Linked DNA regions of Homo sapiens: region 1 is linked to region 2. Evidence: promoter capture Hi-C in 16 types of primary human blood cells and fetal thymus (Javierre and others, 2016). All regions are on one chromosome and are shown on one strand. Each heading gives the region's core, a stretch centred on a gene start or on the middle of the fragment in contact. The rest is flanking DNA. Distances are from core to core; before and after follow the strand shown.

What was found. Contacts are between HindIII fragments. The CHiCAGO score rates a contact against its expected background, and 5 or more counts as called.
Region 1: a fragment that was not itself captured here is called in contact with the fragment with the promoter of SPPL2C in region 2 in 1 of 17 cell types (endothelial precursors); the score reaches 5.2 in endothelial precursors.

What each region holds. Positions count from the first base shown.
Region 1 is chr17:46,270,974-46,276,919 of GRCh38, reverse strand. LOC124904014 (a long non-coding RNA gene) reads right to left here and starts at 2,904. Exons shown (of 3, transcript XR_007065823.1): 1 at 2,829-2,904. It also overlaps a transcript of LRRC37A not described here and a transcript of ARL17B not described here. The HindIII fragment of the contact is 238 bases long and covers 4,578-4,815 here.
Region 2 is chr17:45,840,564-45,847,179 of GRCh38, reverse strand. SPPL2C (signal peptide peptidase like 2C) reads right to left here and starts at 2,299. Exons shown (of 1, transcript NM_175882.3): 1 at 113-2,299. The coding sequence starts at 2,273. The coding sequence ends at 219. MAPT-AS1 (MAPT antisense RNA 1) reads left to right here. Exons shown (of 2, transcript NR_024559.1): 2 at 3,019-3,824. RefSeq lists enhancers at 409-1,392, 1,393-2,377 and a silencer at 6,523-6,616. The HindIII fragment of the contact is 7,159 bases long and covers 1-5,336 here.

The DNA.
Region 1 (5,946 bases), core at 3,447-5,946, 430 kb before region 2:
AGGTAGGAGGATCACCTGAGCCCTGGAGGTTGAGGCTGCAGTGAGCCATGATTGTGCCACTGCACTCCAGACTGGGCTACAGAGTGAGACCCTGTCTCAAAACAAACAAATCAAAAAAAAAAAAAAAAAGAAAAAAAGAAAAAAATTACAATGCAAAGAATTGTATAAAGACAACTTGCTGTTGCATTTTTAGGGAATTTCTATTGCTTTCCAGATTTAAGGTAGAATGAAACATAACTAGCCAGTTATTGAAACTTGATTTTATTATGGGTTTCCAGAATTTCCTTTGCCATATTTTCCCATTGTAATTTATGATCTCCAGCATTGTTTGCACATTGTTTTCATTACTGCACTTTGTTATAATTCATCATTTATACCATCCATATTCTTTCTTTTCTTACGGATTGTGATATCTTTAGTCTAAATTTTTAACTGGAATCAGAACTGGATGTTGGGGTCACTGTTTTATTGTACCTTGTGATTACGTAATCCAAAATTGCCCCCCAAAAAGTCAGGTTAGCTAATATAATTTTTTAATGTTAACGATGTATAGTGGTAAAAAATTTATTCTAGCAGCCACGTGAAACAATGTATTTAAAAATTGTAAACTATTGGAATACTGTATTTATCTGCTATTGCAATATAAATTTATCTGCTATTGCAATATAAAGTCCTTTGACTTAGTCCTGGTAACTGTACAGTAATTTGGTTTACTGACAAAAGTTGTGAGGCCAGCCTTGGTGGCTCACACTTGTAATCCCAGCACTTTGGGAGGCCGAGGCGGGCGGATCACCTGAGGTCAGGAGTTTGCGACCAGCCTGGCCAACATGGTGAAACCTCGTCTCTACAAAAAGTACAAAAATTAGCCGGGTGTGGTGGCAGGCACCTGTAATCCCAGCTACTCGGGAGGCTGAGGCAGGAGAATCGCTTGAATCTGGGAGGCAGAGGTTGCAGTGAGCCAAGATCGCGCCTTTGCACTACAGCCTGGGGACAAAAGCGAGACTTCGTCTCAAAAAAAAAAAAAATTGTGAATAAAACTGTGTGAAACTGGGAGACTTTCTGGACTTTAATAGAAAAATATGATTTTAAAATTGCTTTTTCTTTTGTTTTAGCATAATTTTTCCCTTTATATTCCCCTCATCCGTGTAAATAAACACACACATACACACACACACGCACCTTTCACCACAATGGTAATGCTTCTGTAAATGTCTCTATTTGTCCAGTTGCCTGAAAATGTTGTAATCTTTATTAGACAAATATATATACATACATATTTTAAATATTGGCTTTTTCCAGTGAGCTATTATGCTTAGTGTACAGTGAAAAGTTTTATTATTATAGGTTAAAAATTTCTTAATCGTTCTTTTCTATTCGCTTGCCAAGGGTGAATGAAAGAACATGGCTGCTTCTTCCAGATTTATTTACTTTGGCATCCGCATAAAGCATCATTTTCAAAAATGAAAGGTGCTCAATTGTTCCCTTTTTCTATACTCTGTAGGTCTCACAACAACAAACTGCAGTCTACAGCTTCCTAAAGTTCAGCATGTTAACCTAACATAAAACACAGCAAGAATCTTGTTGCCTGAACTATTTTAAATTAAGGAGCCAGATCTTTTTAGTGAGGCTATCCTGACAAGACTTGACCTAAACTTTGTTTTTATTGGTCATAACAGTCCAATTATATTATTGGCCAATTTTGTCCAATGGACAAGAAAAAAGCAAAGTTGCCAGGTGCGGTGGCTCACGCCTGTAATCCCAGCACTTTGGGAGGCCAAGGCGGGCGGATCATCTGAGGTCGGGAGTTCGAGACCAGCCTGACCAATATGGAGAAACCCCGTCTCTACCAAAAATACAAAATTAGCTGTGCATGGTGGCCTATGCCTGTAATCCCAGCTACTTGGGAGGCTGAGGCAGGAGAATCGCTGGAACCCGGGAGGCAGAGGTTGTATTGAGCCGAGATTGAGCCATTGCACTCCAGCCTGGGTGACAAGAACAAAACTCCGTTTCAAAAACAAAAAAAGGAAGAAAAGAAAAAGAAAAAAGAAAAGTCAACGACACCATTATCTTGTCAAGATCAAATGGTTTTATTATTGTGGCAGAAGCGAGAAAATTTTGTTTATTAAAAAAAAAAAAGAAAAAGAAAGCAAGAAACAATGATACTGTGGGGTCAAGTATAACTCCATGGAAATGCCACGTCTGCTCTTCAGTGAAGAAGCTGGTTTAGAGTCTCAAAGAAAACTTTTGACTGTATTTATTTATTGTTGCAAAAAAGATGCTTTTTTATTGCTGCCCTCATTTGTCAACTAATTATTTTTTCTTATAAAATCCAGCCACGGTTACATATAATCCATCCATATCTTATCAATGATTCCTGTACGTAAAAGTACAAGACAACCTCTAGATGTCTTTTCTTTCTATGAAAGGAGCTGCTATGTACACATGTGCACACACACACAACTGCGAATCAACAATGAGTTTATTGTTCATGGTAGATTAAAATCAAGCTTGCATAAAGGTTGGGCTAAGTGGTCCTGGACTACAGACTCTGGTGACTTGAATATAACAGTACAATTTGTCAATTACTCCACACCAGGTTGAAATGAGTAAAATCTATTTGAAGGTATCTTCTTTGTAAACATTTGTCAGATTCTAATTTTTCTTTTTGTATTAAAATTCAACTATGGATGTATGTGAAACAAAATAAATGGAGATAGTTTTTCTCCCACAGACAGAGGTGTCTTTGAATGTGTGCTAATGATTATCTGTAAGCCTCTGTGGGGAGGGAGGGCTGCAAGGTCATGAAAGGCAAAAGAATCTAATTGTACCTGGAATTCTCCTGGACAGCAGTGGCCCCTCGTTTTATCATTCCCAGTCAATTGTCATCACGTCAGAGAAGAATCTTCAGGGGTGCTAATCCTGTCGCATCAGTTGATCATACTAACGAAAAAGGTAATGCGACAAGATACACATTGCCTTCATCTGTACATTCTGTGATACTGGGCAAATTACCAATTACAGACAGCTACTTATATTGTATGAAGGACATTTTTTGTTAGATGATCTCATCCTCTGTGTTATTTGTTGATTGGGTTTGTTTTTTGCTTGTTGGTTTGTTTGTTTCTTCCATGTAAGGAAAAGTAGTGTAAGCAGTAGGAAGAAAATGAGGAAGATGTATTTTGCATGTTCTTCCTTTCAATGTTCTTACACATTGTATTACTGCATTGTGGTAATAGCTTCTATAAAATCTGCCATAGCTGGATTATGCAGCTTTGCAAAAATTCTACTAGATTTTATTCTAACTCATATTAGCTTTGTCCTATCAACTTCTGGAATTTATCTAATTATTGCTTTTAAAAGTTTCCTTCCTTTCAACGTTTCCCTGCTATGCAAAACCTTTCCCAGACCTTGGTTTCTTAAAAGAAAGATGTTGCTACAGTTCCCAATTCTTTCTTATTACAGGCTCAGGTGTACAGGTTATTCTGGCTTAATTTTATCTAATGAAGCCCATTCCTTTTTGTACATGAAGATGTCACTTAAACCTATGTTTACAAACTAAAGAGACTAATCACTCAATATGAAAACATGAAAACATTTTTGCTTAAAATATTAAGATGGAAATACTTAAATATGGATTATTTTGTCCTTTTACTTTTTAAAAAAAGTTACATATTGTATGCACTGTGCTGATGCAAGAATTCTACATTTTAATGAATTATAAAATTATTCTGCATCTCATCACGTCACAGTATTTCTGCACTATTTATTCATATATATAGAAATATATATGGGCTTAATCATTTAAAATTTGTTGCAGCAAGAACTTTCCTACCTGTAGGCAATAGATTGCTATGTTTTCAACAAATTGTGGCAAATTCTAAACAGCAATTCTTTTGTATGTAATAGGACATTTCATACTAGAAAAATAAAGTAATGTTTTTGACATTGGATTTGGTGCAGTTTCTAATGAAGCAACGGTTGGTTGGTGGTAATATGTCTTCTGTAGCTGTTAGCATTGCCAAATTAAAAAGGGTAAATTTTATGGAAATCCTGAGACCAGGAAGATATTAATTTCATGTGTATTTAATGGTATAAAGTGTTTTACAGTTTCTATCACCATACAAATACATAAAGACATTTTATAGTTTTATCAACTATAGGGCTTTAGTCTTTCAAAAGTAATTTTTGAAAAACACACATTCCTGGCCAGGTGTGGTGGCCCACGCCTGTAACCCCAGCACTTTGGGAGGCCGAGGCAGGGGGGATCACCTGAGGTCAGGAATTTGAGACCAACCTGGCCAACATGGTGAAACCCCATCTCTACTAAAAGTACAAAAATTAGCCAGGCATGGTGGCAGGCACCTGAAATCCCAGCTACTAGGGAGGCTGAGGCAGGAGAATCACTTGAACCTGGGAGGCGGAGGTTGCAGTGAGCCGTGATCACGCCATTGCACTCCAGCCTGGGGGACAAGAGTGAGACTTCATCTCAAAAAAAATAAAAAAGAAAGAAAAACATACATTTTTTAGAACATAATGAGTTCTGAAAGCTGCTTTTCTGTGAGTAATCTTTGAAAGCTTCTGCTATTAAGATCTATATAACACAGCTATTTTGCTTTCAATAATCCAGGCAGTAAACTGTACATTTGTGATACTCTTAGGATGTTTCTACCACAGGCCTTGGGCTTGTAAATATATTTAATTTGCATCAGTAGATTTCCTTGGCTAAAAGTATTTTCAATAACTGTTATGCTTCACCTGCCAAGTTCACAATCCTTGAAACCATTTCATGAAAAGTATTTTCCTATTGGTAAAGCTTTTATTCTCCTATCCAAATTCTACAGGAGGTTTAAATAAAATTGTGGCTGGGCATGGTGGCTCACGCCTATAATCCCAGCACTCTGGGAGGCTGAAGCGGGCAGATCACAAGGTCAGGAGTTAGAGACCTGCCTGACCAACATGGTGAAACCCTGTTTCTACTAAAAATACAACAATTTAGCTGGACAAGTGGCACACACCTGTAGTCCCAGCTACTCAGGAGGCTGAGGTGGGAGGATGGCTTGAACTGGGGAGGCAGAGGTTGTAGTGAGCTGAGATTGTGCCACTGCACTCCAGCCTGAGCGACACAGCAAGACTCTGTCTCAAAAAAAAAGTGAACTTTTGGAGATATTTTCTGAAGTAAAATAATTACCTTTTTATATTCCAAATGGCCTAGAGTGTTATTTAGAGACACTAAGATTTGCTGTTGTTTGTAATCTACCTTCCTGGGATCTGCAAATAAAAGTTATTTCCCTATTTCTGCTAATTCCTTTAGGCAAACTCTCTACTTCTTTATGTTAAAGAGCCAACCTGGTGGACTTTCAGATCTCTGCACACTTAGTTAGACAAAGTTACATGGTTATTACAGCTTTCACTCTTCCTGATTGAAACTATCATGATACGGCTGGGCGTGGTGGCTCACACGTATAATCCCAGCACTTTGGGAGGCCAAGGCAGGTGGATCACCTGAGGTTGGGAGTTTGAAACCAGCCTGACAAACATGGAGAAACCCCATCTCTACTAAAAATACAAAAAAAAAAAAAAAAAAAAATTAGCTAGGTAAAGTGGCGCATGCCTGTAATCCCAGCTACTTGGGAGGCTAGAGCAGGAGAATCACTTGAACCCAGGAGGGAGAGGTTGCGGTGAGCTGACATCATGCCATTACACTCCAGCCTAGGCAACAAGAGCGAAACTCCTTCTCAAAAAAAAAAAAAAAAAAGAAACTATTACCATAGGTCTCAGATTTCTTGCCCTTAATGTGAGAATGGGGATATTCCATGGATAAAATAATGAAGTACTTGAGGAGGTGGAGGGAAGAGCCAACCGAGAAGTATTTTTAATAATTTGAAACATTCTAAGGTATTTCTAGATACTTGGAGTGAGATACTAAAAGACTTTTCTTAGAAGATT
Region 2 (6,616 bases), core at 1,050-3,549:
CCTTCATTATTTGGGGGTGGTGCCCACTCCTAAGGACCCTTCGAGCCCTGCACACTCTTATTATGTGGTTGCTGCTCTCTTGCACTCCCGACAAACAGAGAGACTCCTTGGGTAGATATGAAATCTCTTTGATACCCTGATTTCTTGTTGCCATGCATGGCTTTGCTCTGCAATGTTCCACCAGCCCTTTGAGAGGCGTGTGTCCCAGTGCCTCCAGTTCACAAGGGAGCCTGGGTCGACATGCTCTTTCTTACTTTCAAACCCTTCCTCTTGTGGAGTCCCGCCCAGGGCAGGCCAGTCTCGTGGGCCTGGGCCTGGGCATGGACATGGCCCAGCTCTGAGGGCGGGGGCATCAGGGGCATGAGTGGGATCAGCATGGCCATTGGCATCAGTGGCATCAGCTCCTCCGAGGCCCCAGGGGGGATGAAGGGCAGCTCATTAGGATCCAAGTGGGCGTCACTCCAGCCCTCGGAGCTATCACTGCGGTCCTCTGGATTGGTGGCTTCATTCTCAGATATGGTGACAATCTCAGTGGTGTCTTCTCCAGGGTTGCTGTCTAAGTCCCCTGCTCCTCGGCTGGTGCCTCTCTCAAGTGTGCTGGCTGTGTGGGCATCTGCTGCGCCCTCCTGCTTCTGCCTAGAGCCAGCTGAAGGGGCACAGCCGAGCCCACACATCTTAGCTCTGCCCTGGCCAGTCCAGAAGAGGCTGAGCTCTTGGCGGCAGGCAGCCACAGCCAGGCTGGTGAGCAGGGTGCTGGACACTAGGTAGAGCAAGGCAGGTTGGCCCATCTGCATGAGGACCATGGCCATGAATGTGACCAGCAGGCCCACAGCATAGGCCACGGTGCAGGCCACGAAGTAGATCTGACGGGAGCAGACTTGCACATCAAAGCGGCAACAGTAAGCAACCAGGAAGCCGGGGACCACAATGTCACCGAAGCCAAGGATGGAGAAGGGCTGGCTGCACAGGGTCAAGGCGGAGACTCTTAGCCGGGGCACTTTGAGTACCATGGGCAGCCTCTCATGGCTTGAAGACTCTGCAGGGCCCAAGGCAACCTGCGCCATGATGCTCTCACCGGTTTTGGTGAAGAAGGGGGTGACGAAGACAAAGAAGACATCAAAGGCCAGCAGGGCCAGCAGGAAGGAGGAGCAGTTCTTGAGAGTGGGCAGCCGCACACGGTGCAGGACGAACAGGCAGTAGGAAATGCCCAGTGTGTCCTGCAGGAGCCACGCCCAGCGGTCCTCATTGCGGTAGGCCACCCAGAAGATGATCACGGTTGCGCACAGGCTCGCCAGCAGCAGCAGAGGCAGCGGCAGAGAGGCCCAGAGGCTGTGCGGAGGCCTCTGGTATTGCCGCAGGGACAGGCGGCACACCAGGGGTGACAGGCAGCTGTAGAGGCCAATGCCAGCACCCAGGCCAAAGATCCCAATGGTGACATAGACAAAGTGGTCATAGAAGAAGTAGAGCAGCAGCATGAGCGAGCAGGACAGGGTGACCACCACGCCTGTCATGGCCGGCGTGAAGTCCACTGGGATGTCCTCATTATCTTCCTTCTGGGCTCCCTCAGCTGCTGCAGCTTCCTGCAGCTGATGGTGACCACCAGACCCCCCTCCTCTTCGGGCACGGCGCCGCTGTAGCCGGTTGGCTTCGGTCAGGCCGGCCCAGTAGCCGCCTGCAGCCACTGTGCCCACAGCCAGGATGAAGATGACCAGCATGTTGTAGTCGATGATGGGCTCTGGGGGTGCGTACATGGCCACGCGGACGACGGCCTCCCCACGAGTGTGGCTGAGGATGTCCAGCATGTCAGCATAGTGGAGCATAGCCACAGGGATGGTGAGGTCTGCCAGGGGCTGGCGGGGATCCTGGGGTGCCAGGGTGGTGTCTGAGCACTGTTGGTCACTGACCCGGCTCACGATGAGCAGCCCGTGGGCACCTTGGCCCTGAGCCAGCCAGCCTTTCGTGTGGAAGCTGCAGTTACCCCTCATGACCATGGCAGTGGTCTGGCGGAGGGGCCGCTGGCTGGGGGAGCGGAGCTGGGCCTGGTGGGGGGAATCCTCACCCGGGCACCAGGGTGCCTTGGTGCCATCATACAGGGGCAGGAGTGGGGCGTGGTGCAGGTCCCGGGGGAGGGTGATGTAGTCGGAGCTGAACAGGATACAGTAGTCCTTGCTCCAATTCTCCGACACCACGTGGGCCACGCCGTACTTTCCCCCGGCCACGGTGCTGATGAGGAGGAGGAAGCCCACGGGGAGGAGGAAGCCCAGGCACGCCATCTTCTTCAGTTCCTACTGCAACATCTGCGGGCGGCAGCCCAATACCCCTCCCAGGGGCAGGCGTGGCCCTTTGTCACAGAGCAGTCTGGCCACCTGTCCTGGAAACCAGGGCCACACCTACCTAGTCATAAAGCTGTGTGGTCCCCAGCCGAGGGCGCTGCTGTGGGGCACAGGGTCCCTCTAGAATGATGCCCCCCAACCCTGGGAGACCAGGGGAGAGGTCATATGGACCCTGCTCTCTGCCCAGACCCTAGTGGGTTTAGACCAGGTACTTTGAAATAAAAGGTGTGAGCATGGGGTTTGCAGGCCAGATAGGATTCTGAACCAACTTTTCTCCTTACCCATGGGGAACACAGGCCAATGTCACTCCTCTCTAGGCCTGTTTCTTTAGCTGTAAAGAAATGAGGACGTTGGGCCAGAGAGTTTCTAAGGTCCCTTGGAGCTCTGAGCTCAGTAACATTGAGCACTTTTACCGAGGGCTTACTAGGCGCCAGGTACCCTAGCTGTACCTATTGCACAGTTGCAAGGAGGTGTCATTATATCTGCACAGCCTGAGGCTGTCCCTCAAAGTTGGTCCCCATTTCTACCAGGCACATGACCAGAATTCACCTCCAACTCCATTTACAGTTGGGAACGGACAGGTGACCAGGAGAAATTAAGCAAAAATGATGTGAACTCTTTACATCAGGGGCTTAGGCTGACAGACCGTGGGGCTCCTGGTTTACCCTCTCTTTCCCTTTCTCAGGAGTCAGAACAAGGACGGGCCTGTGATGTGTCTGTCTATGACGAGGAGGACAATGTCCTAAGGAATGGAGAGGAAGAAAGTGAAGGGAACCAGGTCCCTGGATTCCATGTGGAACAGTAGCCCAGGATGTGCACTATGGACTGTTACAAGAGAGAGACATGATCTTCCTTAAGGCATTGATTTGTCATGAGTCTCTTTGTTATAGCCACTTAACGTTACCTTAATACACCCACTTCATGGATAAGTAAAACTGAGGCTTGGAGAAGCCCACATTGACACAGCAAAGAAGGCTGGGGCTCTTGTGCTGGTTAAATGGACCTTGATGTCTTCCAAATGTTTTCATGCTGGATTCTGAGCCACTCTCCTGGCTGCAACTCTGAGGCCGGGCAGACTTTCCGCTGGAAAGAGAACTCAAATACTGGTGAGAGGTGGATTTGAAGCCAGGAGCCCCAGGTTTTGGCTCTGCAGGTTTGCACCCAGCTCTGTGGTGTATGCCCTCACAGGTCACCCAGGACCTCCTGTCCAGGCTTCTTCAGGCCACCCATGATGGAGTAGATTTGAGGAATGAGGTTTTCAAAGCAGTTAGTGTGCGGGAGAGTAACCCTGGGGCCTCCGGAACCAGAAGGGAGGGATTTGGGGGCTGGAGCTTGGCAGTCCAGGTTCCATTGTCCTCATGTTCTCCCCACTGGCCTGGCCTGTCACTCCAGTCTCTGCATAGGTTGTCACATGGCATTCTCCCTGTGTGTCTCTGTGTCTCTTCTCTTCTTTATAAAGACATAGTTATAATGGATTAGGGCCCACCCTAATGACACCATCTTAACTTGATTATGTCTGCAAACACCCTACTTCCAAATAAGGTCGCATTAACAGGTACTGGGGTTTAGGACTTCAACATGCCTATTTGGGGGCACAATTGTGGGCAGCCCCACAACACACATGTAATTTTAACCTCTAAGGAGTAAGCATGCTGATTTTTTTTTTTTTTTTTTTTTGAGACAGGGTCTTGCTCTGTTGCTCGGCTGGAGTGCAGTGGCACGATCTCAGCTCACTGCAAACTCCACCTCCTGGTTTCAAGCAATTCTCCCCCGACCCAGCCTCCCGAGTAGCTGGGATTACAGGTGTGTGCCACCATGCCCAGCTAATTTTTGTGATTTTAGTACAGATGGTGTCTCACCATTTTGCCCAGGCTGGTCTCGAACTCCTGGCCTTAAGTGAATCGCCCACCTCAGCCTCCCGAGGTGCTGAGATTACAGGCACAAGCCACTGTGCCTGGCCAATCACTGATCTTTCTCAAGGACTCTCCTTCTTTTCTCTTTGAGATGGAGTCTCACTCTGTCCCCTAGGCAGGCTGGAGTGCAGTGGCACAATCTTGGCTCACTGCAACCTCCACCTCCCAAGTTCAAGCGATTCTCCTGCCTCAGCCTCCCAAGTAGCTGAGATTATAGGCGCCCACCACCATACCTGGCTAATTTTTGTATTTTTAGTAGACATGGGGTTTCACCATGTTAGCCAGGCTGGTCTCAAACTCCTGGCCTCAGGTGATCCAGCCACCTTGGTCCCCCAAAGTGCTGGGATTACAGGCGTGAGCCACCGTGCCTGTCAAGGCCTCTCCTTCTATTACGGGTCCATCTCTTGCAGTCCCAAACTGCTTTCCTTGGGAAATCCACAGGGATGAAACATCATCTCCAACATCAGCTGTGGATTCTTTGAAGTGGAGGGTGAGTTTAAAGGGCCATGTGAAGTGGTCAGCAAGTGGAACCCATCTGAGATTCTGACAATTCTCTCTCACCCAGTTATTTACACTCATCTCACCCACACCTAATTTGCCAATATTTTTGGTGACTCATTTGTAAAGTATCCTTCAAAGCATTAGACTGAATTTTCATAAGAAACATCTCTCCTTGTTAGTGCACTTCTGATTCATCAGTAATATAACATTTAGTTAGATTACGACAGTAATTACAATGACAAGTGAACTGTCAGAAACATGTTCAGGAACAAATACAAGTGACTGGCAAACAAACCACCAGCCGGTGTGAGGAGAAGCAGGCAGAGCCCAGGGGAGGAGGCTGCCAGCTGTCCCTTCCGAGTGCTCCCATTTCAAAGGGGAGGTTGGCAGGAGGGTGGTTAGGAGAGGGAGGCTCGCCTGTAGGCCACAGGAGGGCTGTGACAGTAAAACCCTTTCTGGCCCCCCAGCAACGAATGGGCAACCTAGACCCTCACTCCAGGCCCTGTTCTCCACGCAGGGAGTCGTGGATCTTTTAAAAAACAAGAACCAGCACACCCACTTTGTCACAAAACCCAGACAATCACAAGCTTTGTCGAGGATATAGGGAAGTTGGGACCCTCATACACTGCTGGTGGGAATGGAAAATTGTGCAGCCGCTGCAGGAAACAGCTTGGTGGTTCCTAGATAAGTTAAGCAGAGTTATCATATGACCCAGCACTTATACTCCCAGCTATATATCCCAAAGAATTGAAATCAGGCCTTCAAACAAAAGCGTGTACATGCATGCTCATAGCAGGACTATTCATGATAACTTGGAATAGGTGGAGAGAACCCATATGTCCATCCACTGATGAATGGAGAAACTGCGGTCTCTCCACACAAGGGAATAGCATTCAGCCATAAGAAGGAATGACGTTTTGATACCTGCTACCATGTGGATGGACCTTGAAAACATTATGCTAAGCCGAAACACATTATGCTAAGTGGAAACACATTATGCTAAATGAAGACGCCAGACACAAAAGGACACATATTGTACGATTAATTCCACTTACGTGAAACAGCCAAAACAGGCAGATCTACAGAGGCAGAGAGCAGATTCGTGGCGGGCAGGGGCTGGGGGAGGGGAGAATGAGGAGTGACTGGTGGGTATGGGATTTCCATCTGGGGTGATGAAGAAGTTCCAGAACTTTTTCTATCTCAGTGGTTTCAGTTGCACGACATTGTGTATTTAAAGTCACTGAATTGTGCACTAACATGGTTGAAATGGGACTTTTTTTTGAGATGGAATTTCGCTCTTGTCCCTCAGGCTGGAGTGCAGTGGTACAATCTCAGCTCACTGCAACCTCCACCTCCCGGGTTCAAGTGATTCTCCTGCCTTAGCCTCCCGAGTAGCTGGGATTACAGGCATGCACCACCACCATGCCCAGCTAATTTTCGTATTTTTAGGAGAGACAGGGTTTCACCATGTTGGCCAGGCTGGTCTCGAACTCCTGGCCTCAAGTGATTCACCCACCTTGGCCTCCCAAAGTGCTGGGATTACAGGTGTGAGCCACAGCGCCCAGACGAAATGGAGCAACTCCAGTCCCCTCCAGCTGCTCTCTCCTCAGGACAGGTCTCATTTTAGTTCTTCTGGACTCCATCACACCAGCACATGCCCCAATTTGGGGGTCTGCACAGACACCTCAAGCAGAGCTTGCTCCTGCCCCTTCTCCCAGATCTACCCGTGGACTGGTTGCCCAGGGCCCAGATAATTCGCAGAAGGCTCATTCCCTCCGAGACTCTGCCTGGGACCCCACTCACAGAAGGCTTTCGTGGGTATGTTTGATCATTGCTTCCCCAGGTCCCCCATCCCTGTGCCCACCCCCA